Linked DNA regions of Homo sapiens: all the other regions are linked to region 5. Evidence: promoter capture Hi-C in 16 types of primary human blood cells and fetal thymus (Javierre and others, 2016). All regions are on one chromosome and are shown on one strand. The core of a region is centred on a gene start or on the middle of the fragment in contact, and the rest is flanking DNA. Distances in the headings are between cores, read along the strand shown. Region 1 overlaps INTS10 (integrator complex subunit 10). Region 2 holds the start of PPP2CB (protein phosphatase 2 catalytic subunit beta). Region 3 has its middle 10 kb from the start of PURG. Region 4 overlaps VPS37A (VPS37A subunit of ESCRT-I). Region 5 holds the start of KCTD9 (potassium channel tetramerization domain containing 9). Region 6 overlaps WRN (WRN RecQ like helicase). Region 7 overlaps LOC105379356 (a long non-coding RNA gene).

Region 1 (4,234 bases), core at 1,058-3,557, 5.6 Mb before region 5:
GTTTGTTTTATTCTTGTTGACTTTTAGAAGCTCTTTCTATGTTATGGTTACTTGTCTTTTCACCTATAAAACCCACTAAAGACTTATGTGAGTACTCTCATTTTTATAAATCAAGTAATTCTTATTTTTACATTTTTATTTTGGTTTGTTTTGGCACGTCTAAGCATTCACTTGGAATAAAGGAAACTTTTTCACCAAATGCTAACGTTTTTTCTTTTGGATACTGTATAGACTTTGACATTTTAATTTAATGTATTTATTTTAAAAATAGGTTTGTGAATTTCCCAGACCAGCCGGTGGTGTGGAGAGAAATCAGCATTATTACATCAGCATTAAGGAACGATTCACAGGACAAACAAACCCAATTTTTAAGAAGTAAGAATAATGGTGTATAAGTTACCATTTCGGGAATACCAAATCATATATAGTAATTTCACACACAAAAAAGTCACACCTGGGGTATTGGTAACCATATGTATGTTTTATTCTTGGCAACCAAAGTCTATAATAATGTCACTCGGTTCCTTGACTTGCTTAGAACCCTTTAAGCTTCTTTAAAGGATATGGATTTATCAGTGAGACGAGGAATTAATTGTATATATTTTTAACAGGTTTTACAATAACCAGATAGCAGCTATAGATTAACCAGCTCTCCACAAAACAGGAGAGAAGCTTTTAGTAATTTAGAAGCTTTCTCTTTAAACTTCTGTATGTTGCTGTAGTCAATCAAAGATTTCAAACTCTAGATAAAATAGCAAGTAGATGCATAGGTCATTTGAACTTCAACAAGCACATGCTCTCTATCTCAACCTGCAACAGGCATTCTTGTGACCATTCACATACATCATTGTTTTTTGAATTTGATCAGTCTTGCAAATATTTTACCATTATTCAGCAAACATCCTGTGCCAGATACTATTGGCTCCAAAAGGCTGCCAGGTTGTAGGTGAAACTTAACTGCATTGATTTCACATGTAGTGTTTACTGTTCTGTACATGAAAATGCCTTACTCAGCACTGTTGCTGCAGTCTTTTCTGTCCGCAAGAAACTTTTAAAAGTGAAATATGTTTCGTACAGGTTTATTTGAAACTCTTCCTGGTCGGGTCCAGTGTGAAATGTTACTAAAGGTCACGGAACAATGCTTCAACACGTTAGAACGATCAGAAATGTTGCTTCTACTTTTGAGGCGCTTCCCTGAAACGGTGGTGCAGCATGGGGTGAGATTTGATTCTTCCCCTTCTTTTAATATAAAATACAATGGGTCATCAACAGATTCATCGGTATGGTGAGGAGCTACAAAGCAGAAGTTTCTGAAGAGTACTGGTTAAGATTGAACTGAAATAGAAGGTTCTTTGTTAGTAAAGCTAAAAGGACATTCTTTTCACCATATTTTGTAAGTTTCCAGGAGAAGCTGTTTTATCAGGAAAATCACCAAGCTCTGACAGTACTGTTTATTGCAATCCATATGGTAAAAAGTAATCTTTTTCCGTTGTATTCTACAATGTGCTTTTGAATTTAGCGTAGAGTTTATAGTCTTAACAGATGCGTTTTTCCTGTGCTTCTGCCCTATGGAGACTATTTTCATTCTATTCCTGCCCCTTTCCTTCATCTGTAATAATTATCGAGTGCTATTGGCAGGCATGGGAAAGTGCTAGGTATCTCCTATCTTCCTAAATCCCCTGAAGTAAATAGTATCCCACTTTACAGATGACGAAACTGAGCATTTTGTGTTTTAGTAACTTCCCATAGCCAGTGAGGTGTCAGGTTTCAAACCATTCACTCCATTCGTTCATACTCTGCGGCTTATTTCCCATGCCATTTTCTGGCGTCTGGCCCGGGTTAATCATTTCCATACCTGCTTGTGTTAGTCTCCTAGGGTTGCCATAACAAAGTACTACAAACTGGGTAGCTTAAAACAACAGAAGGACTCCCACAATTCTGGAAGCTAGAAGTCTAAAAGTCAGGTGTTGGCAGAGGCACTTTCCCTCTGAAGGTTCTGGGGAAGAATCTTTCTTTACCTCTCCCTGGCTTCTGATGGTTGTCAGCAATCTTTGGCATTCCCTGGCAGGCAGCTTCATCACTCCTCCAATTTCTGCTCCATCACCACATGATCTTCTTTCTTTTGTGCCTTTGTCTTTACATGGCCTTTTTTGTCGTTGTTTTTTGAGGCAGAGTCTTGCTCCGTTGCCCAGGCAGCAGTGCAGTGGCATGATCTTGGCTCACTGCATCCTCTGCCTCCTGGGTTCTACCAATTCTCATGCCACAGCCTCCTGAGTAGCTGGGATTACAGGTGTGTGTACATGGCCATGTTATAAGGACACTAGTCATTGGATTGAGGGCCTTTCTAATCCACCATGACCTCATCTTAATTAATTATATCTACAAAGATACTTTTTTTAAAAAAAAAGGTAAGATGTCTATGAGGTCACATTCTGAGGTTCTGCGGGGATATGAATTTGGGGGGGCACTGTTCAGCCCAGCACACTTTCTGGTCATAACTCTGACCTTTCACCTTCTGTGTGATGTAATCTTTCGCACTTTTCCACTCCTGTGGTGCATCCCTGTGTGGTCACAAGGAAGTTGATACCAGTGTCTTGGTGGATTTGAGTAAGGGACCGTCTACTATGCTAAGGCATTGGTAATGGAAAGGTAGCCTTAAAACTCTGACTTTTCTGTCCATTCTACACCAGACTGTATGACTGGCTACACCTCAGAACTTATCTTGAACGTGATACGTTTTGTCTATATTGATACATCTTCATGTAGAGAATAACCTTAGTTTCTTTATTTCTTAGAAAATCTCTCTACCTCTGTATTATCATTTGAACTCCAGTTCCATTGCTTCCTTTACATTTCTATAGACATTTTGTTAATTCTTGTTCATCGTTAATTAGAATTTGCTAATTATGAAGAGAATAACCAAGACAGAGTGGTCAGATGTTCAGGTGAATTTGGCCTTCTAGGGTGTGTGGCTGGTGCATTCTTTTATTTTCCAGTCTTTAAAATGTGATTATTTGTTTCTCAGATAAGTTTGATTATGCAAACTGTGATAAGTAAAAAAAATACCCCATTACTTCATATAGTTCTGACAACTTATGCTGTAACACATTTAAATGAGTAATTTTGTTTTGAAATAGGTTGGCCTTGGGGAGGCACTATTAGAGGCTGAAACTATTGAAGAACAAGAATCTCCAGTGAACTGCTTTAGAAAATTATTTGGTAAGGAAAATTGTATTCTCTATTACTTCTATGGTAAATTAATATGCTGGGGTAAGTGTTGGTTCAGGGATAAGCTCATATATGAAAGGCAAAGGAGCTTTATGTGTTATGGCATTTAAGTTCTTTTTTTTTTAATTTAGAAGCATTTTAGCTGGGTGCGGTGGCTCACGCCTGTAATCCTAGCACTTAAGGAGGCCAAGGTGGGTGGATCACGAGGTCAAGAGATCGAGACCATCCTGGCCAACATGGTGAAAACCTGTCTCTACTAAAAATACAAAAATTAGCTGGGCATGGTGGCGCACGCCTGTAGTCCCAGCTACTACGGAGGTTGAGGCAGGAGAGTCGCTTGAAACTGGGAGGCGGAGGTTGCAGTAAGCCGAGATCGCGCCACTGTACTCCAACCTGGTGACTGAGTGAGACTCTGTCTCAAAAAAAAAAAAAGCATTTTAAACAACTTCTAAACTTTTGTTATGTAAGATTTGATACCTCTGAAAGAATATGCATAGCTGTATATGTAAGTATGAAGCATAGTAATAAACATCTGAATTCAATGGAAGAACTGGACCCTCACCCACAGCATAAAAGTGTCTGTGTTTCCTCCCTGACTCCAGCCACTGGTGTCTCTCTGCACAGCACATTTTGAATACATGAGTCATAAGGGATTTTTCCCCCTATATATTTTAGATACTACATCAAATGAACTCTGAAAGCTTTTGTATTTATCGGAACTCTAGGGTAGACAACCTAATTAATTTATTTCTTCTTTTTCTCCTCCAACAGTTTGTGATGTCCTTCCTCTAATAATTAACAACCATGATGTTCGATTACCTGCCAATTTATTGTATAAGTACTTGAACAAAGCAGCTGAATTTTATATCAATTATGTCACTAGGTCTACTCAAATAGAAAATCAGCATCAAGGTAAGTAGGAATACCCTGTACTTTTACTTAAATAGGCTTTAGTAATATTGCAAAATTCAGAAACCCCTCAATGTTCTGATTATTCTCCTCTGGA
Region 2 (3,830 bases), core at 1,229-3,728, 5.4 Mb after region 5:
AGGGGGAGGACTGAGCCGGGTAGGGCGGCCGCGGGCCCCGCGCCCCGCCCAAGCCCAGCAGGCGGCTCCGAGCGCGCAGCCTGGAGGAGACCCCCGCCCGCCCTTCCCCGCCCGGCCGCGCGCCGCGGGAGTCGGTGAAGGACGCGGTGAGGTGCCGGGGAGCGCGGCGCGGGTCCTCGGCCTAGCTCTCGCCGGACGAAGGCCGCCCGCTGCCGCTTCAGGCCCGCCTCACGCCTACCGGCCTCTCCCGACTTGTCTTTCCCCTTCTCTCGCTCTTTCTCTCCCCTCCCTCCGGGTTTCCGTCATCGCTCGGGCATTTCCGCCGGGAAAAGGCGAGCAGGCGGCGCCGCCGGGACACGGCGCCCTAGGAGCAGAACAGCGCCCTCGCGTGGCTTGGCGGAGAAACGGTCCGAGGAGGCCAGGGTCCCTCTTTTCCCCACCCTGCCCCAGACCAAGCTCTGCTGGTTCTCCCTTTAAATATCCTGATCTCTGGGAACTTTGTCCTCACTTTAGCTTCCTGCAGTACTTTGCAGCGCTCTGGACAGGGAGTTGGAAAACTTGGGCTTCCCTTAACATTGTCTCCCCAGAGTCTAGCACTCAATAGCAGGCATTCAATATTGATGGAGTAAATTAATTATTTCCAGCCTCACCTGTAGCCCCTAACATCTCGAATCCTCCCTTTCGACATTAGAAAAGTGAAATGATTGTTCTGTAGGATAATCTGTGGCCCTTCCAGCTCCAGAGCTCTTGGCTATATTTTCTGCAATGTGTACTGAGTTGTAATGATTTGTTCATTCAACAAATATTTATTGAGAGACAGAACAGGGACCCCTCTTAGGGGCCATCTAGGCACCCCCCTCCCCAAGCATGGAAATAAAGGAAAATCTTGAGTTCCCTGAAGGGACATTCCAGGCACCTAACTTCCTCAATAAGTCAATGAGCAACCTGATAAGCAAGAAGGTAATAATAGCTTAAGACAGTAGCCAAGGACGTTAGATTCACAAAATGTTTGCTTCCCTATAGAAACTAAAGACGACATATGTCCCTGAGTTGTTTTTCAGAAACCTGGACCTCACCAAATGGAAAATGGTGTCCACTGGCATGGAGATCTCAAACTACCTATCTTTGTTCTAAATTTCTTCCTGAGGAGCCTGGAAGAATTCACAAAGCTTTGCCTCCTTAACCAATTGCAAATCAGAAAATCTTTGAATCCATCTATGACCTGTGGGTCCCTGCTTCAGATATCCTGGCTTTTTAGATCAAACCCACGTATAGCCTCCATGTATTGATTTATGACTTTGCCTGTAACCTCTGCCTCCCTGCCTTTAAAAATCCTTACCTGGGCTGGGCGCAGTGGCTCATGCCTGTAATCCCAGCACTTTGGGAGGCCGAGGCCAGGAGTTGGAGACCAGCCTGCCAACATGGTGAAACCCCTTCTCTACTAAAAATACAAAAACTAGCTGGGCATGGTGGTGGGCGCCTGTAATCCCGGCTACTTGGGAGGCTGAGGCAGATGAATCACTTGAAATCGGGAGGTGGAGGTTGCAGTGAGCCGAAATCTCGCCATTGCACTCCAGCATGGGTGACAAGAGTGAAACTCTGTTTCAAAAAAAAAAAAAAAAGCACACAAAAAACCCCTTACCTGTAAACCATCAGGGAGTTGGGGTCTTAAGCATGAGCTGCCTGATTCTTCTTGCTTGGTGCAATGCAATAAATGCCTCACTTTCACTACAAACCCCAATGTCAGTGTTTGGCTTTGCCGTACTTGAGGGAGGACCTAAATTCAGTTAGGTAACATGAGCAGCTGCTAGCTGCCAGATACCTTGAATAGCATGTGCTAAATGATCATACTGTGTCTATTAAAGGTACATACTACTGCGGCTGAACCCAAGTGGAAGGTAACATCCTGTATCAGAAAGCAAGGGTTCTTGTGTTTGCTAACCCCCTAGCTATGTCCTTGGGCAATCATCAAACCTCCGTAAGCCTCAAATTCTTCATCTGTTAAAATCAATAAAAGGCCTACCTTTGTGAAGATTAAGTTTTAAAAGTGCCTGCCCAATAGTACGGTATGGGAGCGATATGTTAGTTGCCTTACCCCTCCTAGGGAACAATTACAGAAAGCTTTAGAAAAGCGGTAATTGAACTGAATTTTCAACCTTCTCTCAAGGCAAAAGCTTGAAGTTGCCTGGAGAAGAGGAAAGAAGGTCTAAGGAATTTTTTTGTGCGTGTGCCAGTAGACAAATGAGTGAAAGACCATTCATTGTCTGTTTGGAAAGCTATAAATTCTCCTAGCAACAGAAATAGATTATATTGTTGGAAATAAGGCTGGAAGAGCTCCTGCTCTCAACAGCTTGTAAATAGCAGCAAACCAGTTGAACAAAACACAAAAGGTGATGAAACAATACTGGTGAGATATCATTGCAATAGATATTACATTCTCTGAGGAGGTTAGTCTATAAGGCTTTAAAGGAGGCTGGGCCAGGTGCAGTGGCTCACACCTGTAATCCTAGCCCTTAGGAGGCTGAGGTGGGAGGATCACTTGAGCTCAGGAGTTCAAGACCAGCCTGGGCAATATGGTGAAACCCTGTCTCTACGGAAAATTAGCCGGGCATGGTGGCGCATGCCTGTAGTCCCAGCTACTCAGGAGGCTGAGGTGGGAGGATCATTTGAGCCCAGGAGGCGGAAGTTGCAGTGAGCCAAGATTGCACCACCGTAACTCCAGCCTGGGCAACAAGTGAGATCCTGTCTCAATACATACATAAAAAAGGAAGCTGATTTTCGGCTAAGCTTGGAAAGCTCGGAACAAAAGTGAGAATGAGAATATGTTCAGGGTTCCTAGAGAAGATGGACTGAAAACAAAATATACCCTGAGGGCAAGTGGGAACTGTGGATGGTAGTTAGGGAGGGAGGTCCTTGAAATAGAAGCAAATGTGTTTGAAATGAATGTGAGAGAATATTCTTAGAGGTGAGTAGGTGTTTGTGAAAATAGTACTTCTAAGAAGTTTAGTCAAGTAGTGATGTAGAACAAAGAAGAATACTTTCTTTGAGTAGTTCCTATATACTAATGTTTTTACATGTAGCTTCTCATTTAATGCTCCAGTAACCTCATGAGGCTGGTGTTATTATACTTTCCATATTACAGATGAAAAGAAAGACAGGTAGAGGTTTAAATACATGTTCAAGTCACACAGATAGTACTGGTGGGGTACAGATTAACACTCACATATGAGTTCTACTCCATGCTTTATGTTCTATGGTCCCTGCAGTGTGGATGGGAACATGGAAAGCCCAAGAATGGTAGATTGGCCAAGGGGCTTGATGACTTACAATATCAGTTTTTGCTATTTTGGTTGTGACGGTCTCTTAATTATAAATAAGAACAATAATTCTTTTTTTTTTTTTTTTTTGAGATAGGGTCTCACTCTGCCACCCAGACTGGAGCACAGTGGTACGATCTTGGCTCACTGCAACCTCCACCTCCCAGGCTCAAGCGATTCTCCTGCCTCAGCCTCCCAAGTAGCTGGGATTACAGGTGCATGCCACTACCACCCGGCTAATTTTTGTATTTTTAGTAAAGACAGGGTTTCAACATGTGGGCCAGTCTGGAAGAACAATAATTCTTAAACTTATTTCTTTTTTGCTTTCTGCTTCTGTCAGACGTGTGTGTTTGTGTGTGTGTCTGTGTGTGTGTGTTCTCCTTCAGAACATAACCATCAACCTCCAATCCTTGCTAAATTACTTGTCATGCCAAACTGCATTTAATCTTAGGTTTATAGGCCAGATCTAATTTTCTTTTTTGACCTAGAGGTTTTCTTATTGTTATTCTGTTT
Region 3 (4,368 bases), core at 802-3,301, 5.6 Mb after region 5:
AGGCAGAAGAAGGAGTAGCTCTCAGTCTTCTTTCTACCCAGATACCCTAGTTGTTTTGACCGAGTTTTTCCATCACTATCTTCTGTAGCTAAGGTAAAATCTCATCAGCTGACAGCAGTGTGGTTCTTAAAGTGCGGTCCCCCTAGATCACAGCATCCACTCTCCTTAGGACTGTTAGAAATGCATATTCTTGGTCTTCTCCCCACCTCACCAGTCCTACTGAACAGAAACTCTGAGCTGGGGCCAGCAATCTGTGGTTTAACAAACCATCAAGATGATTTGTATTCACACTGAAGTTTGAAAATTAGTGCCCTATAGTAATGGGGAAAAATATGTATCTGTAAATGGAGAATTATCTGTTTATTGTACTGGAATTAAGAGAAAGAGGAGGAAATTTGGTAATTAAATATGAAAATGAGTGGAATGATATAGGGAGGAGTATGGCAGGAAAAGTTGTGAGACATCAATAAGATGGCAGGAAAAAGTTGTAAGAAATCAATAAAACTTCCAAAAATATTGATAAGATTTATTTTGAAACTAAGATAACGTAACCAGTTGTTTTTGGTTCATGAAAATGAAATTGTAGACCCATGGTGAATAGTAATTTGTCTCCTCTCTGCCCTTAGGGATGAAACTGTGAAGCTCTTCTACATTCTTATGATCTGATCCCTTTAAAAAGTTATGATCCCTTTAAAAAGTTTATTGGAAATAGTTGATCAAGATTAGAGGTTTTATCTGTAAACTAAAGATCAAATAACTTGTATTTATTAGCACCAACTTTAACCAATGGAATCCTCATATAAGCCAAGTGTCTCTTTGGTGAGACTAGTCCCACATATAGGGGACGGTTTTGGATAAAATAATTCCAAGTAAGCTGAGGCAGATGTATAGTGGCGGCTGGGGGTAGACTGTGCTTTATTAGAGTTGGAAGGATCAGCTTCATAGGAAATCTGAAAGGCAGTTTGGCCTAACTGAACGGGCACAATCGTTGGCTTTGGTGTAAATTTGGGTTCAAATACATTAGTTCTGATATTCTGAACCAGTTTATAAACCTCTGGAAAATCATATGAAAATGGGGATAATAGGGTTGTTATAAGGATTAGGAATAGTAGCTATAAGGGGCCCAGCTATGTCTAGTATACAGTGGGTGGTCCATAAGCAATAGTTATTACTACTAATAAATCTTAATTGACTCTTCCTTTTCTTACCACCTGCTCTTTTAAAATGGTCATGGTGAAACTTCTCTAGGGACCAAATTCATTTCTTTCTTTTTTTTTTTTTTTTTGAGATGGCGTCTCACTCCGTTGCCCAGGCAGGAGTGCAGTGGTGCCATCTCAGCTCACTGCAACCTCCGCCTCCTAGGTTCAAGCGATTCTCCTGCCTCAGCCTTCTGACTAGCTGGGATTACAGGAGCGTGCCACCATGCCTGGCTAATTTTGGTATTTTTAGTAGAGACGGAGTTTAACCATGTTGGTCAGGCTGGTCTTGAACTCCTGAACTTAAGTGATCCGCCCGCCTTGGCCTCCCAAAGTGCTGGGATTACAGGCATGAGCCACCACACCCAGCCTAAATTCATTTCTGAAATTACCTGTCAATCATGCTCGTCAAAAATATTTTCTGAAGATGCACTGTGTATTGAAAAGCTGGAGGAACTGACCTTTCAGTTCATGTCATCCCAAGTCAAATCTGTTTTCTATTCATCCTAAACTGTCATATAGAAATCTGGCAAGAGCGTGGAGAACAGTTCAGTGAAGTAGTAACCCTTCTTTCTTACAGTCTATAGATCAAGCTCACAGGGCAATTTCTAGATTTTCAAAGAGCAGCTCTGGTCTCTATTATGTTTCAATTGTCTTCTGAACAAATAAATAGGATGGAGTGGGTCCATGTGATAGTGAAAGAAATTAATGCCCTTACCCACTTCCAATAGGGTACAGTGTACAGGAGGGAAGAAGGAAAGAGGATTATAATGAATGGAATTTTAGAATTCTATTTTTACAACTGATTATAACATGAGATACCCTTTTTGGAACATTTACTAAGCAGCAAAAGATTTTGTTCTATTGACATTCTAGACTGACAAATCATTGGAATAAACCACATTGCTAGTTTGAAGAACCAAGAAATAAAATACAACAGTCTCTGAAGTAAATTAGCAAATGATAAGGAATGTTGTGAATTTGGGTGTCTGTATATATCTTTATCCTTACTCCTACATCATTTTCTATGGCTCTGTTGTTTTATTTTGCTCGGCAGTTTTGGCACGTAGGTGACTTCTTTTGGTAAAGTTGCTTAGAATATCTGATGGGAAGCTGAGGAAAGTTTCTACAAAATGGCAAGGGTAAAGAACTGCCAAACTAAACTATTCTCTCAAATCCCACTTAGATTTCAAACACCACTGAAAAAGAAGCAATCAAGGATTTAAAATGTATCTGCTATTTTGAGAAGAGGGAGGAGAAAAGAGAGAAAACATTTTCTAACAACAGCCAATTCATTCTATAGAATTTGTTGAAAACAGACCAACCAAATTGCTATTTTGAACCACCACCAGGGCAAAGATTAGTTATCATATGGAATGTTTCCGTAATGGAATTTATGTGCACAGAAACTTTTGAAATTAGCAAAATACACATGCATATGCACTTGAAAATACACTTCAGTTACCCTTAAATGGAGTCTCTGATAAACAAATAGGCACTAAAAGAGAGGTCTAGGGAGAAACATGTCACTCTTTTTTAAGCCTCTTCACTGGCAGTGGCGGGGCACTGCATAGCTGAGGACTGGGGTGCTTAAATACATGCTTCTCTGCATTCCAGCCTGGGCGATAGAGTGAGACTGCATCTCAAAAAAAAAAAAAAGTAATAATAAATAAATAAATAAAATAAATGCTTCTAAGACAAAACCCTTGTGTGCTGCTTCTTCTCTTTTCCAATCACCATCCTTTGACGTTTCTTAAGGCTAAAAAAAACCCCCAAACCATTAGATGTTTAATCTTTGCATACCCTAGTAGTTACAAGTCCTCTAAAACAGAACCATACAGTTCACAGGTCAGTATCCTTTCTGATGGTCTTTGTCAGACATCATTATTTCTAGCATAGGATATTGGACAGGATCAACAAAAAGGAATCGAAGACAGTAGGGACCACTACCATGACAGCTGCAGTATTATTTGGCAATGTGATCTATGGTTATTTTAGGAAAAATGGCATTTCAGGAAGTGATATTAATCTGTAAAATTCCTTTGCCATGCAGAATATAAAAAATGATTACAGAATATGCAGAAAAAAGCAATGCTCCTTCCAAATAATGAGATATTTGATATAATAAGGAGATGGGAAATAATCAATATTTAAAAATATTCCTTTTAAAAAATTAAAGTTTAGGATAGTTACGTAGTTAGTATACAACAACTTGGTCTTAATAAGGACTAGAAACAAAATTTTATTTTGTGTGGCTAAAGAAATACATACATATTATAAAACTGACATTTTTTTGCATTGTTCCGTTGGGTATCATCACAGGTTGCTGCATCATTATAGTTGTTTTTAATGTAAACAGATAAACTCTCACACTTTCCAACTCTGGTATTATCCATCTATTTTTCCTTTCACAGTCCACTGATACAGAATTTTAAACATTTAGAGTAGGAGGGAACCTTAGCTTCCAGCACAATACTGTTCATCTTTCACATGAGGAAATCATCCAACAGAAGTTGAATGATTTACTCAGGGTCAGGCCGCACCTTGGCAGAATTACGTCTTATTATTCTTTCTCAAATGCTCTTTTAAAGGTTAAACAGAGGTTGAGTTTTGAGAATGACTTATTTCTCTTAGATGAATTTCGTTACAGACAAGCAAAATAATCAGCCACTGTCTTTCTCTTTTCTATTTTTTCTTTTCTGTTTGCCACCTCTAGGCAACAACCTCATTGAATCCACAACAAAATCCTGAAGATTTCTGTATTATCCAAGAGAACCATTTTCTTTAAGAAAAATAAAATACTAAATATGTTTTGAATATAAAAGTTTCTGATAAAAGTAATCCTGACTTTAATCAGATCAAGTAAGATAATCAGATTTATACCATTATTTTGATAAAGACAAAAAAAACAACATAAGCTTTTTTTCCCCAGTCTTACACTTTGAGCAACTCTTTTAAATACTATAAACACTTTTCATCAGGGACAATTTTTCCCTTTCCCTAGGAAAATGAAAACCGAATAGAAAAATTTTTTGCAAAAATTAAGTTTAAGAGGGTAAAATGTGAAGACAGAGAACTGCTACTTAATCAGAAATAAGTAAACAATATTAAACAGGAAAGTATATATTCCATTTAAATGAGTTTTTTTCTTCATATTCATATCACAAAGTAA
Region 4 (4,361 bases), core at 1,532-4,031, 8.2 Mb before region 5:
TTCAGATTTTTCTTGGCTTCTCTGTATAACTTTCTACTCCTCTAGTGGACCGGCCCGGGCTCATATGGAGTGAGGGTCTTCAGGGCGGAAGGGAAAGTGACCTTTCTAGATTTTTTGTAGGGAAGAAGGGTTGTAGTTTGTAATATACCGCCCAGGGGAGGAGGAATTCTGGTTTCTATGACTTCTTCAATGGAGAAAGAGGGGCAGGAGGTGGTCAGAGAGAGCTTTACTTCTGAGGCCCTCCAGACTCCTTTAATTCAAAGTAATCAGCCTACCAAAGTGCAATATTTTGGGGTATTGTTTTCTGAGCCCCAATACTGGCAATATGTTGCCTGATTACCTAAATTAGTGGTACGACTTACACTTAAAAGATTTTTGTGCGAACAGACAGATTGGTTATTCTAAAGGTGTGGTGTGTAAAAGTTGAAAGAATTTCCAGTGTGTTTTTTCCTATGAACAGTACAAAAACTTGTTACATGAGGAATATCAATATCTTGTTACATGCTGTCCATCTCCCTCATGTTTCGTTTTATGTCTCTTCTCCAAATGTAAGCTCAATAGGTGAATATCTTTTTTTGGCCATGAAAGTATCTTTTCTTCTGCTCTACTGAGTAACCTTTCTCTACCCCATTCTGTCATCTCCCTTCCAACTCTTACAATTTTTAACCCCTTATAATTCCGAAAATTCCACTTCAGCAGTCTCTTTTTGTCCCTTTCTCTAATGATTGTGAACTTTTTAGTTGCCTTAAATTCTTATCTCCTCAGCTACCTCAGTCTTCTACAAAAAAAATAGGTGAATTTTATGTAAATTTTTTCATCTGAGTCTCAACAATATGCACGGCAAATGAGATAACTGTCATAGATGACACTCACAGAAAAGTGTTTAACCAAAGTGTTTAAGTCAGCTGTGAAAATGGAAACTAGAAATTATGCCTCCTGGGCTCAAGTAATATGTTCTCTCTTCTAAGTATCACTTACCACAGTATTCAGTTTATCACCAAAACTCCTGACTTTATGGACAGGAGTAGAACTAATTCTGTTTCTTATACTTCCTGAGGAAGCTGACTTTATGGACACTGTTGGTTTTTCCCTCTGCAAGGCCCATACTTTGTGGAGGCTGGAATCTTTCAACCCAGCCTCCACTAGAGGTGAATAAGGATTGTTTATGCCAGTGATGATGGTCTCATCACCCTTCCCCCCAAGTTACTGTGGAAGCAGGACTCTTGGTTAGTGGGAGTTGGAGGGGAAGTCTGCTGGGGAGCTGCTCAAAATGTTTTCTCAGCAATAGTAACAAATGACTGGGAGGAAGAAATGTCTCATGTTTTGGATATTTTTATGTGAGACAACCCTGATCCTCCAATTCCTATCTGTAAAATCAGCAATTGTGATTCCTGTCATGCAGGATTTTTGATAACTAAAAAATATATGTAAGACATTTGGAAGAGTATCTAGCACATAGTAGGCATAGGACGAATTACATTCCTTCTTTCTACTGCATAGAATCAGTGTGCTTGAATCTTTGCCTCTTAGCCTATAAGCTTCTAGCCAGCTTATTGTTTGTAGATCTCTCATAAGCTTACCTACAACTTATCTGTCTCTGGCAGAACTACTTCTGACTTTCCATTTAGAAAGCAAGTCCATTCCAGACAGTTAGTTTCTTCATAAAATTAGGCATGATGCAGGTAAATAACCTAAATTATTATCTTGCACACAGGAGATGTAAACAGCAATTGTTACTGTATTTTGTTCTTGTCCCTATCTTTAAAATAGTAGTGCCATTCTCCCTAGTCTTTAAAATTTGTTTTAATATTTTCTTTTGCTGCCAGTCTGCGGATTCCGTTGTTCTGATTGCCTAAATGTTTAGCCTTAAAACTTCTTGTAGAGTCAGCTCTTGTATAGTTCTCCCCCACAGCTGCTAAGCTTAACGTTTTGATCACAGCTATAAGACTTTGTCCCCCTATCTCATGGGATTCTGAGTAAGCTTAAATTCCATGCTCTTGTTTCTATAGAATTCATTCTCAGCTCATGAGGACTCACACACAAACTTGGTAACACAAGAGATATTGTAATGAAGGGATGTGTATGTCTGTGTTTCAACCCGTCGCATGTTATATATTTTTATGAAAAGCATTTATTATCAACAGTCAAAATTTGCAATTTTTGTATTAAAATTTCCAGGTTTCCTTTTTATTTATTTATTTTTTGAGACAGGGTCTCACTCTGTTACCCAGGCTAGAGTGCAGTGGCACGATCACAGCTTACCGCAGCAATCCTCCCACCTCAGCTTCCCAAGTAGCTGGAACTACAGGCACATGCCATCATGCCTGGCTCATAAGTTTAATTACTTTTGTTGTTGTTGTTGTTGTTTTGGTAGAGATGGGGTTTTGCTATGTTGCCCAGGCTTGTCTCTCAAACTCCTGGGCCCAAGCACTCTGCCTGGCTTGGCCTCCCAAAGTGCTAGGATGACAGGCATGAGCTGCCACACCCAGCCCAATTTTTCTTTATTTAATAGACTTTATTTTTAGTGTAGTTTTATGTTCACAGCAAAATTAAAAGGCAGAAGATTTCCCCTATGTCCCCTGTCGTCTCTAACTCTTCTTTTAAAATGGAAAATCTGGAAAGATTGGTTTCCACATAGCAACATTTGCTTCAAGCTGAAGAGTAGCTGTCTGCTTTGCTGGGCTACCCACTACCCATTTCACTAGTTTGCAATTCACTCCCTGTTGGACTACAAGGAGCTGCCTTCATTCATGTGTGTTACCTCGCTGGTGTAGTTATTTGATAGGAAAACTTCTTTATGGAAGGAAATAACATTAACTTGTAATAAAAAATTCTACAAGCATCTGTTATGCCTTAGCCCATTGAAGCTACAGAAATCTCCAAAATATCAACATTTTGACTGTGTAAATGCACTTTGAGCTCTATATAGTAAACTTTAAAATTATGCGTATCAATCCTGTAATTAAGTTAAAACTTTGACACATTAAATTATATTGTCTATTTGTAACCAGTGATTAAGACGTATAATTGCAGAGCGTATGACGCAATAAAGCATGGTACCATTTAAGAAATATCATACAGCTCAAGTGCTCAGTTAATTTTCTCATTAGAAATATTAGTCCGTTACTGCTTTAAAAAAAAGTTATGATAAGGCAGTCATTTCTCCATTGCTAGTTAAATCAGCTACATCTGCCCCTCCCCCCAACCTGAACTCCTTCCAAACCATTTCTGCTGTTTGCTCACCTAAGCCGAAAACCTGTGCCGTCTTCCATTTCCATTCAGTCTTCCATGTCTACTACCACAAGGTTCTAACAGTTCTCTCTGCCTCCAGCCTTTTTCCCTCTGCCTTTTCTTCCACATTGCTGCCAGAGTAATCTTTCTAAAATTCAAATTTGACCATGTCACTCCTTTCAGTAGTTTCCTAACTCTTGTCAAAAAAGGCCAGCCACCTTAACTTGATTCCTGGTTGTCACAGAAGATGGTGATGTGACTGGTGGAAAGATATCAACAAACAGAATGTAACGTTTCATATATGGCAAAGGCTATGGAGACTTTTGGAGAACTTGTGTTATTTTGTATCTGAAGCTTTTCTGATAGGGCTTCTCCATTTAAAATGTACACTGTATTTCCCTGATTTACTTTTCTGAGTATTAACTCTTTTAAATGTAACTCAGATATTATTTTTTCCAGAAGACCCCACTGCCGCTAGGTTAGGTGCTTTCTTCTGTGTTTTCATAGCTCTTTGTACATCTCAGTCATTATCATGTGTTCTATTAAAAAAATGTGAAATAAGTGCTCCATGTTAACACAGATTTCGAAAACAAACACAATTTACTTTGGAATTTCTCAAAATCTTTAATGTGCTAAAGTGGATCAGCATTCTCCAAGAGACAGCTATAGTATGAAGGATTTTCCAAACAACACTGAACCATTTTTGGAGCTATTTGTTTTAAATTTCCAGTTTCTTGCTTTTTCATTCTTATATCAGTTGTGTAAGTATGTGTGTGTGTGCAAGTGCTGTTGTCTTTTGTTGTTCTGATATTACATAAATTTATAGTCATCTTGTCTTTGCTCTTGAGTTTTTTATGTTTCAATTTGTTGAATTTGGTGCACAGTTTGCGTGATTTTTTTTTATTCAAACCTTTATGACGTTCTCGTTTCTGTATTTGAGCTTCCCTGTTGACTTGTTTGTGAATACTTACTGTTTGCCATAGTCTGCTTCTGGTGATGAAGAATAAGAATGACGAGTCCTTAGGTAGGGCAAGTTGATAGTTATCTTCTGGAAAAGGAGGCTTCCTGGGGAGTCAGTAGCTGTCATGGGGTTAGTAACTTCCTGAGGAGTCTCCGCTAGCTTAGAGGCT
Region 5 (4,153 bases), core at 538-3,037:
AGTAAATAAAATTTAAATCCAAGAATCTAATCTAGTCAAAACTAGATAGCTTAAAAAAAAAATCCGTGTGAACAACAATATGGAAAGACCAACTCAGTTAATTTTTGACAACCAAATTGAGTGGATTTGGGAGAGATTTAGAGCAAAAATATTTATGACTAGGTTTAAATATTTGTCTTCCATGAGTAACATAGCAGAGATACTGCATTAAAAAGGTCAACCAGAAGTTTGTTTTTGAGAAATATTACCAATTTTGAACATACTAAATCTTTCTTAGAGTAACAACATACGTTTTAGATAACAGGTAGTAGCTAAGTACAGAACAGGTTTAGAAAAAGTTAATAGTGATGAGAAATGTAAACTTCGTGAACATATTTTCGGGGTAGCATTCATGATAACTCAAGAACTCGAATTTATACGAATTCTGATTTTAAATGAGTATTAAATCTCTAAGACCAAAAGAACATAAAATTATAGCCAACAAACCACACTCTGGTTCGAATTTTCGGAGCATGTTTACTCTACACTGAATAATCGGAAAGCCATTTTTAATGCCACTGGACAATTTCACTATTTAAAAATTTACAGTGTTCCCCGAATGTGCAGGCAGCAGAGTATTTTGGCAACCAACACAGCGAGACCCATTTACCTTTACCTTAGACTCGTAAAGGCTGAGTTACTTCTAGGTATCATTTAGCAACGCAATAAATGTCTGCCTCGAACAGTGAAAATTTCCCAAAGGAGCAGAACAACTTTCATGGGTGGGGCAAAAGGCTGGGAAGGAAGAGAATTCGTTTTGGCTTGCTCCAGCGCTGGAAGAACACTGAGCACCACACTCTCCGCAAAGGCCTAACACAGCAAAGGCGACTGTCAAATCGATCCCTTTTGGGTCTGCTGTACCCGTCCTCTAGGGAATCAAAATAAGGCAAAATAATAAAAAGAGTACAGAGAAGTTTGGCGGCGGCGGGGCGTGGGGGCTTGAGGCATCTCAGAGAGGAGGGCAAAAATCAACAAGAAAATGCCCCCATTTTAAAAATCCTGTCTGCGACCTCGGATGGGAGATTTTGTTTATCCACGGGCAGTTTACTTCTGTCTCCCTGACCCATCTCCACAGGCTCTGGTGCTCGCCGCCACTTTCCGAGCAGATCATTACTCAGCACCGGAGCCGGCGCGCCTCCTCCCGCAGGCGGGAGCGGGGTCTCGGGGAGAGGCGGGAAGAGGCGCGACCGCCCGGGCGCCCAGGTGACCGCGGCCCTCCCCGCGCCCCCGTCCCCGCGCCCCCCGCACCAAGCATCCGGGAGACCCGGAGCCCCCGGGCCGAACCGCGCCGGCCCCCAGGCAGCTGAGGCACTGAAGGGCAGGCTCGGGCACGGGGGTCCTGAGGGTCGGGAGGAGGCCGCGGGGACCCTGTGCTGTCCCCGAGCGCCCCCAGCCCGCGCACGCCCACCTCCCAGCCCCTCTACCCAACTTCACCGCTGCCCCGCCAGCCGGTTCCGCACCGTCCGCCCTCGCCCCGACCCCCGGCCCGCCGCGCCCCCTCACGCCCCCGTTACCTTTCCGTTCTTGGGGCTGCCGTTCAGGAACAGGGTCACCCGCCTCATCGCGCTGCCCCCGCTGGGTCCTGAGTGAGCCGCCACCCTCCCACCTGGTCCTCCTCCCACCTTTTTCTCCTCCCGCCCTTCCCCTCCCTCCACCCACTCGGATTCGCCTCCCTTCGCCACCTTCCTGCCCTTGGGGACACACCACACGCACGCACTCTGTCCCACACCCAAGGTTCGGCCGGTCCTCCTTCCCACCCCGCCCCTAGGCTCCTCAGCCTGCCTGGGGCCCTTCCCCCACCTCTCCGAGACTGACACTCTGCCGTACCAACCAACCCGCGTCACCGGACAGAGTCCAGCCAATCAGCACCCAGTATCGGGCGGGCTCTGGCTAACCTAGCCGGGACGGAGGGAGGGAAGAGACGCTGAAGGCTAGTAGACGGGAAGGGGCATCAGCCAATCAGAGAGGCTCCTGGAGCCGGACGGCGGCTTCCAGCGTTACTGAGCAGGCGCACCCTCTAGTTTAGGTAGCGCTTATCTGCATACGAGGGCGGGGTCTGGGGAAAGGAGGTGGAGCGCTGAAAGGGACCCAAGCACCAGTCAGCCCCTCCTCCAGCGTTAGCCCCGCCCACAAGCCGGCCCAGCTAGGAAACGGCTGCGGTAGGGACGGACTGATTGGGTAAGAGCCAGCTCGTCGCTCTGTTAGGATTGGTTGAATGAGTCTTTTCGAAGTTTGCAGCATCCAATAGAAAGGTGGGAGGCGGAGTTAAAGCGCTAAGAGAAGCGTTACTCCGCGAGACTCTCCTGAAAAGTAGTCCCCGAGGTCACAAGGCAGTGGCAGGTGTCTGTAGTCCTCGGGTTGACTGCAGCTCGCGGTGGTCCCTCTCCGAGCCCAGGAAGCCACTCCAGTGCCGAGGGAGAGGCCTGGGAGCGCTCGGAGTGTGCGCGGACTGGAGAAGGGGGAGGTGGCGGAGTGATTCGTAGAGTAAATTCGGTACCGAGGGGCGGGGTCGGGGATTTGAATCGGTCGGCGGGCGGAGGAGGCGGGTGGAGGAGGCTGCCGGGCAGAGCGCAGGCCAGGATCAGCGCAGGCTGTGAGTCCAGGTCAGCCGTCGGGACCTCGGGCTCCGGGTTCGAAGAGCGGCTCCCGGCTGCGGGTGCTTTGCCAGGAGAGCCCTTCCGGACAGAGGAGCCGGGGTCTGGAAGGAGCGGCCGACGCGACGCTCGCCTGCCACGGGGCTCTGGGAGTAAGCCTGTCTGCCTGGCGGGCCTTCAGGTGCGGCGTGAGAGGTAGGATTGCATCCGCGCTGCCACGGGGCTGTTTCTCCGGGGCATTTCTAGGCACTTTGTTCGGCTTACCCTGCAGCACAGAATTAGTACTCCTGTCAGGAGCTGCTCTGGGTGACCAGGAGTGCATCCGGACCTGTTGAGAGAATTTCTGGAAATGGATAGAGCTGCGTCTTGAGAGGGGTACCCTTATGATTCAGGTTTTCGCTACGGTTGAAAAGCCATGGCTTATCCTTTGGGGTCTGCTTTGGTGCCTGAACAGCAGTTTTCTCCATTTCTTTCTGTTTAATTTGGCTTTAAAAGTACGCGCTTAGAGTAAAAGAATGGTTAGCACAGGGTGGGAAGTGTATTGGGGATGGATGGGAAGGAAGTGGAGATGGTTAATAGGTAGAAAAACAAAGAATGAATAAGATCTAGTATTTGCTAGCACAACAGGGTGGCGGTCCATAATTTAATTGTGCATTTAAACATAACGAAGTATAATTGGATTGTTTATAACAAAAAGGATAAATATTTGAGATAATGGCTACCTCATTTACTTTGATTTGATTATTACGAATTGCATGCCTGTATCAAAATATTTCATGTACCCCATAAATTATACATCTACTGTATACCCACAGAAATTAAAATAAAAAATGAAACCTGTGACGTGTGTTTCTATGCCAGTATGGACTGTATTACAATTCAGTCCTGAATAAGGTACGTGATCGAATCACGTTCATCTTGCTGGTGGGGTTATTTTTCATTGTTTTTCTTCACCTCTTAGATGGATGCCAATTCAAAAGACAAGCCCCCTGAAACCAAGGAGTCTGCAATGAATAATGCTGGTATGTGATGATCTGCCTCCTTGTGAAGTTGAAGGTTTAGACAGAGAGTTGTCCTCACCCCTACAATATGTCGTCCGTTTCAGGAAATGCCTCTTTCATTTTGGGAACTGGGAAGATTGTGACTCCTCAGAAGCATGCCGAATTACCTCCTAATCCTTGCACACCAGATACTTTTAAATCACCTTTGAACTTTTCCACAGTAACCGTAGAGCAATTGGGAATTACACCTGAAAGCTTTGTTAGGAACTCTGCAGGTAAGAAAAGTTGTCATTCTGTTGTAATGCTTTTCAAGTTTAAAAATAACTTTAATATAACTCAGCTTTATTTGTTTATACGTACTGTCATATTTTAGGTACCTAAATTGCCTACTCTGCAAACTTGCTTCTTCAGAGAGACTTCTTTGCACATGCACAGTTCATTTAGCATAGCAGGGATCACGGAATCGCAGGGCACCCAGCATGATAATGTTCCCAAGTCAGAGTCGTGCTTGATGCCAAT
Region 6 (4,146 bases), core at 1,139-3,638, 5.6 Mb after region 5:
TCTTTTATTACCTATGCTTTTGGCATCATACCTAATTCCCAAATCCAATGCCATGAAGATTTTCTGTTATGTTTTCTTTTAATAGTTTTATAGTTTTACTTTTTCTATTGGAGTTTTAAGTAAATTCTTGTATATTAGTGTGATACATTTTAAGTTATTTTTGTATATGGTGTGAGGTAGGGGTCCAACTTCACTCTTTTCCATATGGAGATCCAGTTGTCCCAGCACCACATGTTTAAGAGTCTATTCTTTCCCCACTGAATGGACTTGGCACCCTTGTCAAAAATCAATTGGTGGTAAATGTATGGATTTACTCCTGGAATCTCAATTCTATTCTATTGTATTTATATTTCTGTCCTTATGCCTGTACCACACTGTTTTGATTACAGTAGCTTTGTAGTAAGTTTAGAAATTGGGAAACATGAGTCCTCCAACTTTGTTCTTCTTTTCAAGATTATTTTGGCTATTTGGGGTCCCTTGCAATTCTGATGAGTTTGAGGATCACCTTTTCCATTTCTGCAGAAAAGCCTTTTGATAGGGATTGCATTGAATCTGTAGATAACTTTGGGTAGTATTGACATCTTAACAATATTAAGTCTTTCTATGCATAAACATGGGATATCTTTCCATTTATTTGTGTTTTCTTTAATTTCTTTCAGCAGCATTCTGTAGTTTTCAGAGTACACGTTTTTCACCTCCTTGGTTAAATTTATTCCTTGGTATTTTATTCTTTTAGCTGCTATTGTAAATGCAGTTACTTTCTTAGTTTCCTTTCAGATTGTTCATTTCTGGTGTATAACAACAGCTGATATTTCAACGTTGATGTTGTACTCTGAAACTTTGTTGAATTTACTTATTAGATCTAGTAGCTTTCTTTGAGATTTTTATATGGGATTATGTCATCTGTATATAGAGATAGTTTTACTTCTTCCTTTCCATTATGGATGCCTTTTATTTCTTTTCCATGTCTAATTTCTCTGGCTAGAACTTTCAATATGATGTTGAAAAGCAGTGGTGAAAGTGGGTATCTTTGTCTTGCTTCCTATCTTAGGTGGAAAGCTTTCAGTCTTTCACCATTAAGTATGGTGTTAGCTGTGGGTTTTCATAAATGCCCTTTATCATGTTGAGGAAATACCCTTTTATTCCTAGTTTTCTGAGTTTTTATCATGAAAGGGTGTTGGATTTTGTCAAATGCCTTTTCTGTGTCAATTGAAATGATCATGTATTTTTCCTCCCTTATCTTAATGTAATGTGTTATATTGATTAATTTTCTTATGTTGAACCACCCTTGCCTTTCTGGGGTAAATTTCAGTCACTTATGTTATATAGTCCTTTAAATTGTGTTATCTTATAACAGAATCACTCTGCTACTGTTTTGAGCATAGGCCATAGGGAAAAGCAGGTAAAAGGTAATATGGCTTGAACCAACATTGTAGCAGCGGAAGTGGTGAGAGGAGGTCGAATTTTGGCTTTGTTTTGAAGATAGAACCAACAGTATTTGCTGACAGATTAGATGCAGAATGTGAAAGGAGGAGATGAGTCAGGATGAATCCAAGGCTTTTGGCATGAGCAACCAGAAAGATGAAGGTGACTTACTAAGATGGGAAATATACAAAAGGAGCAGTTTGGGGAAACTTTATATCTATTGAGTGGAATATGCCAATTAGAGATTCAAATATCCAGTAAATAATTGGCTATCAAAGTTTGAAGTTAAGAGGAATGGTCTAGGCTGTTTATATAACTTTGGAAGTCATTAGTGTATAACAGCTAATTTAAAAGCCAGCAGACTCTAAGGGAGTGAGTGTAGAGGGAGAAGAGTAGAGGTCTGTGACTTGAATCCTGGAATGCTGTGATGTTTAGAGATTGGGGAGGTAAGAAGGAGCAGCAGAGTATACTGAAAAGGGATTGTTATACTGAAAAGGGATTGATATAGATGGAGACTCAAGAATTATCACAGAAACCTGATAAAATGTTTCAAGAAGATGGGTGTGATTAATTGTGTCACTTACTGCCGGTACATTGACTCAGATGAGCGTTGAGAATTGGCTATAGGATTTGACAACATAAAAGTCATTGGAAACCTTGACATGAGCCCTTTTCGTGGAGTGGAGTGGTTACAGTGGGTTTAAGAGAGGATTAAAGGAGTGGAAACAGAGATGCTATTATAGATGACTCGTTTGAGTAGTTTTCCTACAAAGGGGAGAATAATAATGGAGCAGTTAGCCAAAAGTTGAGTTTTTTTTTCTTCTTCTTTTTTTTAGTTGGAAAAAATTGCGTATATGTTGATGGGTCTTTTCTGGCAGACCAGTAGAGAGGAAAAAGTTGATGATGTAGGAGATGGGAAAATGTCTTTGAGTAGATGTCTTCGAGAAAATGTCTTTGAGTAGATGAGAGGTTTGCACACATGGAGAGGTTGGATGTAGGAGTACTGATAGTTCATCCATAGTTACATAAGAAAAGGTAGATGTATTAGAGTTCTCCTGAGAAACAGAACCAATGGGAGATCTTTATATCTCTGTGTCCATCTCTATCTGTATTTCTGTCTCTGTATCTATGAAGAGATTATAAAAGTTTTAAGATCTGCCAGGAGACATACCCACGGGAGCTAATGGTATAGTTCCAGGCCAGTTGTGAAGGCCTGAGAACCAGGAGAGCCTATGGTGTAAGTTCCAGTCTGAGTCCAAGTCTGAAGGCAGGAGAAGACCAATGTCCCAGCTCAAAGACAGGCAGAGGGAGCAGATCTTCCCTTACTTAGCCTTTTTATTTATTCAGGCCTTCAACAAATTGAAGGCCCACCCACATTAGGGAGGGCAATCTGCTTTACTCAGTCTACTGAATCAAATGTTAGTCTCACCCAGAAACATCCTCACAGACACACCCAGAATAATGGTTAGCCAAATATCTGGGCACCCCATGGCCCACTCAAATTGACACATAAAATTAACCACCACAGTAGAGTATATGGGTACAAATATAATTATGTGATATAGATTTCAGGGTAAGAGCCTGTGGAAATTCATTTTTGATTGCTTCTAGTGAAATCGGAAGCAAGATCATCAGCTAAGAGTGACGATCGGTGGAGGAGATATGAAGTTTAAGTGGAGAGGAGAAGGTATAAAATAGTCTTAGGAGGGGAGGATAGTAAATAGATTAGGGAAAAGTTGTAGGATTGCCAGGAAGTAGTAAGGGCCCACTTGAGGCTGGTGGTCACAAATTTAAGGTGAGACCAGTCAAAATGGTTGTGCTTTTCACCTGCTGCATTCATTCAGCTGCATAGGTACAGGCACAGAGTAGGTCAAGAGTTCTTTTTTATTCGGGGTTAGAGTTTTGCCAGGAGATAGTAATAAAGCCAGAAGGGCAATGAATTTGAGGGAGTATGCAAGGAAGTGGCTGTTAACTTGGAGTTTAAACTAGTCAAGAAGAGAATTAAGGACTGCCCAAGGGGTGAGGACAATGATATGGTAGCAGGGCCCTTAAAAGCCCCAGTTAGATGAAAAGATTGTTGGAATTGAGTTTCTAGAGGGAATGAACTTGAAAAACAGGAGGTGTTGGTTGGAGAGTGGGATATATGGAATTGAGATTATGGAAGGATTCAGTCGTTGGTAATAACATAGTATCTTTGTAGGAATAAATAGGTGGAGCAGGATGCAGACAAGATCACTGGAGGAGGGCTGGTCAGAAGACTGGGAGGCACTATCTCCCTTGGATATTATACATCAAAGCTTGTGATCTACTAGACAAGTAGTGGGGAAAGGGTAGGATATAGATATTAATGGCTATAGTTTTGATGGTGATGGTCATGGTGATGATGATGGTCCATTAACACTCAACTCAAATACCATCAATTTGATTTATATCTAACACCACAAAGTTAGGTGTTGAGTTACATGTGGTTATATTGTAACTAATAGTCAGCCCTTCATGGACTTCTATTCTTTGATGAGACTCTTCTTGTAGGAGTAGTAGGTGCCTTAAAGCACCTTTTCATAGTTGTCAGATTGAAATCCTTCACCAGTGTTTTAGGTTAACCCTGTTACTGTGGAAGTTTCTCTTGGCTTTCTGTGTGGGCTGCTTCTTTGTCTAGTTTTACCTTTTGGGGTTAGCATACTATTGTGAATAATTTATTGGTGAGAAGGTAAGCAGAGA
Region 7 (3,895 bases), core at 913-3,412, 5.3 Mb after region 5:
AGTCTGTTGGGAAATCACTCTTACTCGGGGAAGCTGTTCTTTTCTTTCTATTCAGGCCTTTAGCTGACTGGATGAGGCTCACACACATAATGGAGGGCAATCTGCTTACTCAGAGTTAAGTGATTTAAATGTTAATTTCATCCAAAAACACCATCCCAGCTGACATATAAAACTAGTCATCACACACTAGTGTACAGACTCCATGGTGTGCAAGAATCTTGTCTTATTTGTGGCTATATCTCCAGCATCTGTAACAGCACCTGGGGTGTGGTAGGTGCATCATATTTATTGTTCATTGGATGAATCAAGTCTATGTGATTTTGGTGCCTAGTCTGAGCCCAGAAGGTCAAGGCTGCAGTAAGCCGTGATCTCACCACTGCACTCCAGCCTAAGCAACAGAGCGAGACCCTGTCTCAAACAAACAAAAAAATTAGGTATGGTAGTGCACACCTGTGGTCCCAGCTACTCAGGCGGCTGAGGTGGGAGGATCACGTGGGCCTGGGAGGTGGAGGCTGCAGTGAGCCGTGATTGTACAACCACACTGCAGCCTGGGCAACACGATTGGACCCTGTTAAAACAACAACAACCAACACACACACGTAGCCATCTTATTTTTTAGGGGGGAAAAAGAGACTACTAAAAGAGCAATTTCATAAGCCTAAATGTAAAAGCTAAAATACAAAGCTTTTAGAAGAAAATATAGAGGCCGGGCACGGTGGCTCATGCCTGTTATCTCAGCACTTTGGGACGCCAAGGTGGGCAGATTGCTTAAGCTCAGGAGTTGAAGACCAGCCTGAACAATATGGTGAAACCCTGTGTCTATTTAAAAAAAAAAAAAAATAGGAGAATCTCTCGACTTCAAGAAAAGCAAAGGTTTCTTAGGACACAGAAAGCAATAATCATAAAAGAAAACTTAGATAAATTGTCATCAAAATTAAAAACTTCTCATCAAAAAGTCAGTAACAGCTGGGTGCAATGACACATTCCTGTAGTGCCAGCTACTCAGGGGGCTGAGGCAGGATTGCTTGAGCCTAGGAGTTTGAGACCAGCCTGGGAAACAGAGCAATCAAGACTCTGTCTTTTTAAAAAATAATAATAATAATAAAGGCCGTGTGCGGTGGCTCACGCCTGTAATCCCAGCACTCGGGAGGCCGAGGCGGGCGGATCACAAGGTTAGGAGCTCGAGACCATCCTGGCTAACATGGTGAAACCCCTGTCTCTACTAAAAATACAAAAAAAATTAGCCGGCATGGTGGCAGGCGCCTGTAGTCCCAGCTACTCAGGAGGCTAAGGCAGGAGAATGGCCTGAATCTGGGAGGCGGAGCTTGCAGTGAGCCGAGATCGTGCCACTGCACTCCAGCCTGGGCGACAGCCTCCGTCTCAAAAAAAAAAAAAAAAAAAAGCTAGGCACGGTGGCTCACACCTGTACTCCCAGCACTTTGGGAGGCTCAGGTGGGTGGATCACCTGAGGTCAGGATTTGAAACCTGCCTGACCAACATGGTGAAACCTCGTATCTACTAAAAATACAAAAAATTAGCCAGGCGTGGTGGCGGGCGCCTGTAATCCCAGCTACACGGGAGGCTGAGGCAGGAGAATCGCTTGAACCTGGGAGACAGGGGTTACAGTGAGCTGAGATTGTGCTATTGCACTCCAGCGTGGGCAACAAGAGTGAAACTCCATCTCAAAAAAGGCTTTTTTGTTGTTGTTGCTGCTGTATGATTCATGTATATAATATTCTTGAAATGACAAAATTAAAGAGATGGATTTTAACTCAATTATACCTCAATTAAGATGGAGGGGGAAAAAAGGAGACGGAGACCAGACGAGTGGTTTCATGGGGGTTGATGGTGGTGAGGGTAGAAAGTGAGGTGGTTTGGCTGTAGAAGGGTAGCATGAGGAATTCCTGTGATGGAACTACTCTATATCTTGACTGTAGTGTTCAGAGAAATTGACACAGGTGATAATATTGCATAGAACTAAATCACACATGGCCGGGTATGGTGGCTCACGCCTGTAATCCCAGCACTTTGGGAGGCCGAGGCGGGTGGATCACGATGTCAGGAGATCAAGACCATCCTGGCTAACACGGTGAAACCCCGTCTCTACTAAAAATACAAAAAATTAGCCGGGCGTGGTGGCGGGCGCCTGTAGTCCCAGCTACTCGGGAGGCTGAGGAAGGAGAACGGCGTGAACCTGGGAGGTGGAGTTTGCAGTAAGCCGAGATTGTGCCACTGCACTCCAGCCTGGGTGATAGAGCGAGACCCTGTCTCAAAAAATAAAAATAAAATAAAAAAACTAAATCACACACACAAATGAGTATCTGTAACTGGTAAAATCTGAATGAAGTCACTGGATTGTGTCAATATATATTTCCTGTTTATGGTATTATACTGTCCTTATGCACAATTTTAACACTGGGGGAAATGGTAAAGGATTTATGCAATCTCCGTGACCTCTTATAACAACATGTGAATTTATAATTATCTCATAAAATGTTTAAAAAAGCATACAGTGTGAACAAAGCCTTATCCAAAGAGTACATTTTGTATAATTTACAGAAGTCCTAGAAGAGGCAAAATTAACCTATGGTGGAAAAAAATCAGAGCAATGCTTGCTCTCTGTGCAATGCTTTTTGCTTTTTGTTTTGAGACATGGTCTCTCTCTGTCGCCCAGGCTGGAGTGCAGTGTCACAAACACAGCTTACTGCAGCCTCCACCTCCTGGGCTCAAGTGATCCTTCTGCCTCAGCCTCTGGAGTAGCTGTGACCACAGGTGCATGCCACCACACCCAGCTAATTAAAAAATGTGTTTTTTTGTAGAGATGGGGTCTCACCATGTTGTCCAGGCTGGTCTCAAACTCCTGGGCACCTCAGCCTCCCAAAGTGCTGGGATTACAGGCATGAGCCGCCACGGTCAGTCAGTGCTTTGTATCTTGCTTGGGATTTAGGTTGCACTGGGTATGCATACATTGGAACTCAAGGAATGGTATGCTCATGATGTGTCCATTTCATTGTGTTTAATGATATGCACGATGAAGTATGTATATCATATGAAGTATGTGAAGGAAACCAGAAGGTGCCACCCCAAGATATGCCTCTTTGAGATAAAAATTATTTTTTGGCCAAAGGCAATTAAGGAGCAGAAAACAGGCCAGGCGCGGTGGTTCACACCTGTAATCCCAGCACTTTGGGAGGCCAACGCTAGAGAATCACTTGAGACCAGGTGTTCAAGATCAGCCTGAACAATATAGTAAGACCCCATCTCCTGGAAAAAAAAAAAAAGAAAGGAAAGAAAAAATAAAAATTAGCCAGTCATGGTGGCATGTGTTTGTAGTCCCAGCTACTCAGGAGGATGAGGTGAGATGATCGCTTGAGCCCAGGGGTTCCAGGCTGCAGTGAGCTATGCTTGTGCCACTGCACTCCAGCCTGGGTGACAAGAGTGAGACCCTTTTGGTGAGAATGGAGACACCAGTAACTTACAGCTTAACAATCACCAATGAGAACTAAGAGCTCTAAATCAACCTGATTTTACTGTTCCAGGAATTCTTACTCACGAAGATAGGCTATAGGTCAATCCATACCTTCATTCTGAGCTTTAGGAACTTCCCATTTATCTGGTCTCTAAGTTGCTCATCAGGCTGCAAAGCTTCCTTCTCAGGCACTGAGAAGTTGAGCTGATCATTGAATTGGGCAAATCACCTTCCTTGTCAAAAAAGAGGGAAAATCTAACTTCAATTTCTTCACCTTGTTGGGTGTACCGTCTCAAACTATTCTACCATGAACTATGTCCAATCCCAGTGAAATCTCCATATTGAAAAGACCACCTTAAACCACTCTAACTAGACTATAGAACCCTATAAAAATCGCCCTCTGTAAGGCCGAGGCTGGCAGATTGC

Evidence for each region. Contacts are between HindIII fragments. The CHiCAGO score rates a contact against its expected background, and 5 or more counts as called.
Region 1: a contact is called between a fragment that was not itself captured here and the fragment with the promoter of KCTD9 in region 5, in 2 of 17 cell types (total CD8 T cells and activated CD4 T cells). The highest score is 7.3, in total CD8 T cells.
Region 2: a fragment that was not itself captured here is called in contact with the fragment with the promoter of KCTD9 in region 5 in 1 of 17 cell types (total CD4 T cells); the score reaches 8.9 in total CD4 T cells.
Region 3: a fragment that was not itself captured here is called in contact with the fragment with the promoter of KCTD9 in region 5 in 1 of 17 cell types (total CD4 T cells); the score reaches 5.6 in total CD4 T cells.
Region 4: a contact is called between a fragment that was not itself captured here and the fragment with the promoter of KCTD9 in region 5, in 3 of 17 cell types (non-activated CD4 T cells, total CD4 T cells and naive CD8 T cells). The highest score is 7.5, in non-activated CD4 T cells.
Region 6: a contact is called between a fragment that was not itself captured here and the fragment with the promoter of KCTD9 in region 5, in 2 of 17 cell types (naive CD8 T cells and activated CD4 T cells). The highest score is 6.3, in naive CD8 T cells.
Region 7: a fragment that was not itself captured here is called in contact with the fragment with the promoter of KCTD9 in region 5 in 1 of 17 cell types (naive CD8 T cells); the score reaches 8.1 in naive CD8 T cells.

The regions. Positions count from the first base shown.
Region 1 is chr8:19,819,302-19,823,535 of GRCh38, forward strand. INTS10 (integrator complex subunit 10) reads left to right here. Exons shown (of 17, transcript NM_018142.4): 3 at 272-375; 4 at 1,078-1,217; 5 at 3,138-3,219; 6 at 4,000-4,140. Among named protein-coding and RNA genes, the nearest start is that of INTS10, 4.0 kb to the left of the region's middle. The HindIII fragment of the contact is 3,239 bases long and covers 689-3,927 here.
Region 2 is chr8:30,812,548-30,816,377 of GRCh38, forward strand. PPP2CB (protein phosphatase 2 catalytic subunit beta) reads right to left here and starts at 271. Exons shown (of 7, transcript NM_001009552.2): 1 at 1-271. RefSeq lists a silencer at 1-144. The HindIII fragment of the contact is 613 bases long and covers 2,173-2,785 here.
Region 3 is chr8:31,020,704-31,025,071 of GRCh38, forward strand. It overlaps a transcript of PURG not described here. Among named protein-coding and RNA genes, the nearest start is that of PURG, 10 kb to the right of the region's middle. The HindIII fragment of the contact is 4,121 bases long and covers 1-4,112 here.
Region 4 is chr8:17,249,987-17,254,347 of GRCh38, forward strand. All of the region lies in intron 1 of VPS37A (VPS37A subunit of ESCRT-I), which reads left to right. Among named protein-coding and RNA genes, the nearest start is that of VPS37A, 5.2 kb to the left of the region's middle. The HindIII fragment of the contact is 1,604 bases long and covers 1,980-3,583 here.
Region 5 is chr8:25,456,646-25,460,798 of GRCh38, forward strand. KCTD9 (potassium channel tetramerization domain containing 9) reads right to left here and starts at 1,788. Exons shown (of 12, transcript NM_017634.4): 1 at 1,554-1,788. The coding sequence starts at 1,601. It overlaps CDCA2 (cell division cycle associated 2), which reads left to right and starts at 2,588. Exons shown (of 15, transcript NM_152562.4): 1 at 2,588-2,828; 2 at 3,595-3,655; 3 at 3,739-3,909. The coding sequence starts at 3,595. RefSeq lists enhancers at 837-886, 2,257-2,486 and silencers at 1,497-1,546, 1,907-2,116. The HindIII fragment of the contact is 4,823 bases long and covers 1-3,887 here.
Region 6 is chr8:31,038,587-31,042,732 of GRCh38, forward strand. The region is part of intron 1 of WRN (WRN RecQ like helicase); the gene reads left to right. Among named protein-coding and RNA genes, the nearest start is that of WRN, 6.8 kb to the left of the region's middle. The HindIII fragment of the contact is 2,663 bases long and covers 1,058-3,720 here.
Region 7 is chr8:30,737,273-30,741,167 of GRCh38, forward strand. The region is part of intron 1 of LOC105379356 (a long non-coding RNA gene); the gene reads left to right. LOC105379355 (a long non-coding RNA gene) reads right to left here. Exons shown (of 2, transcript XR_949634.2): 2 at 3,511-3,702. It also overlaps a transcript of UBXN8 not described here. Among named protein-coding and RNA genes, the nearest start is that of UBXN8, 4.9 kb to the right of the region's middle. The HindIII fragment of the contact is 2,961 bases long and covers 683-3,643 here.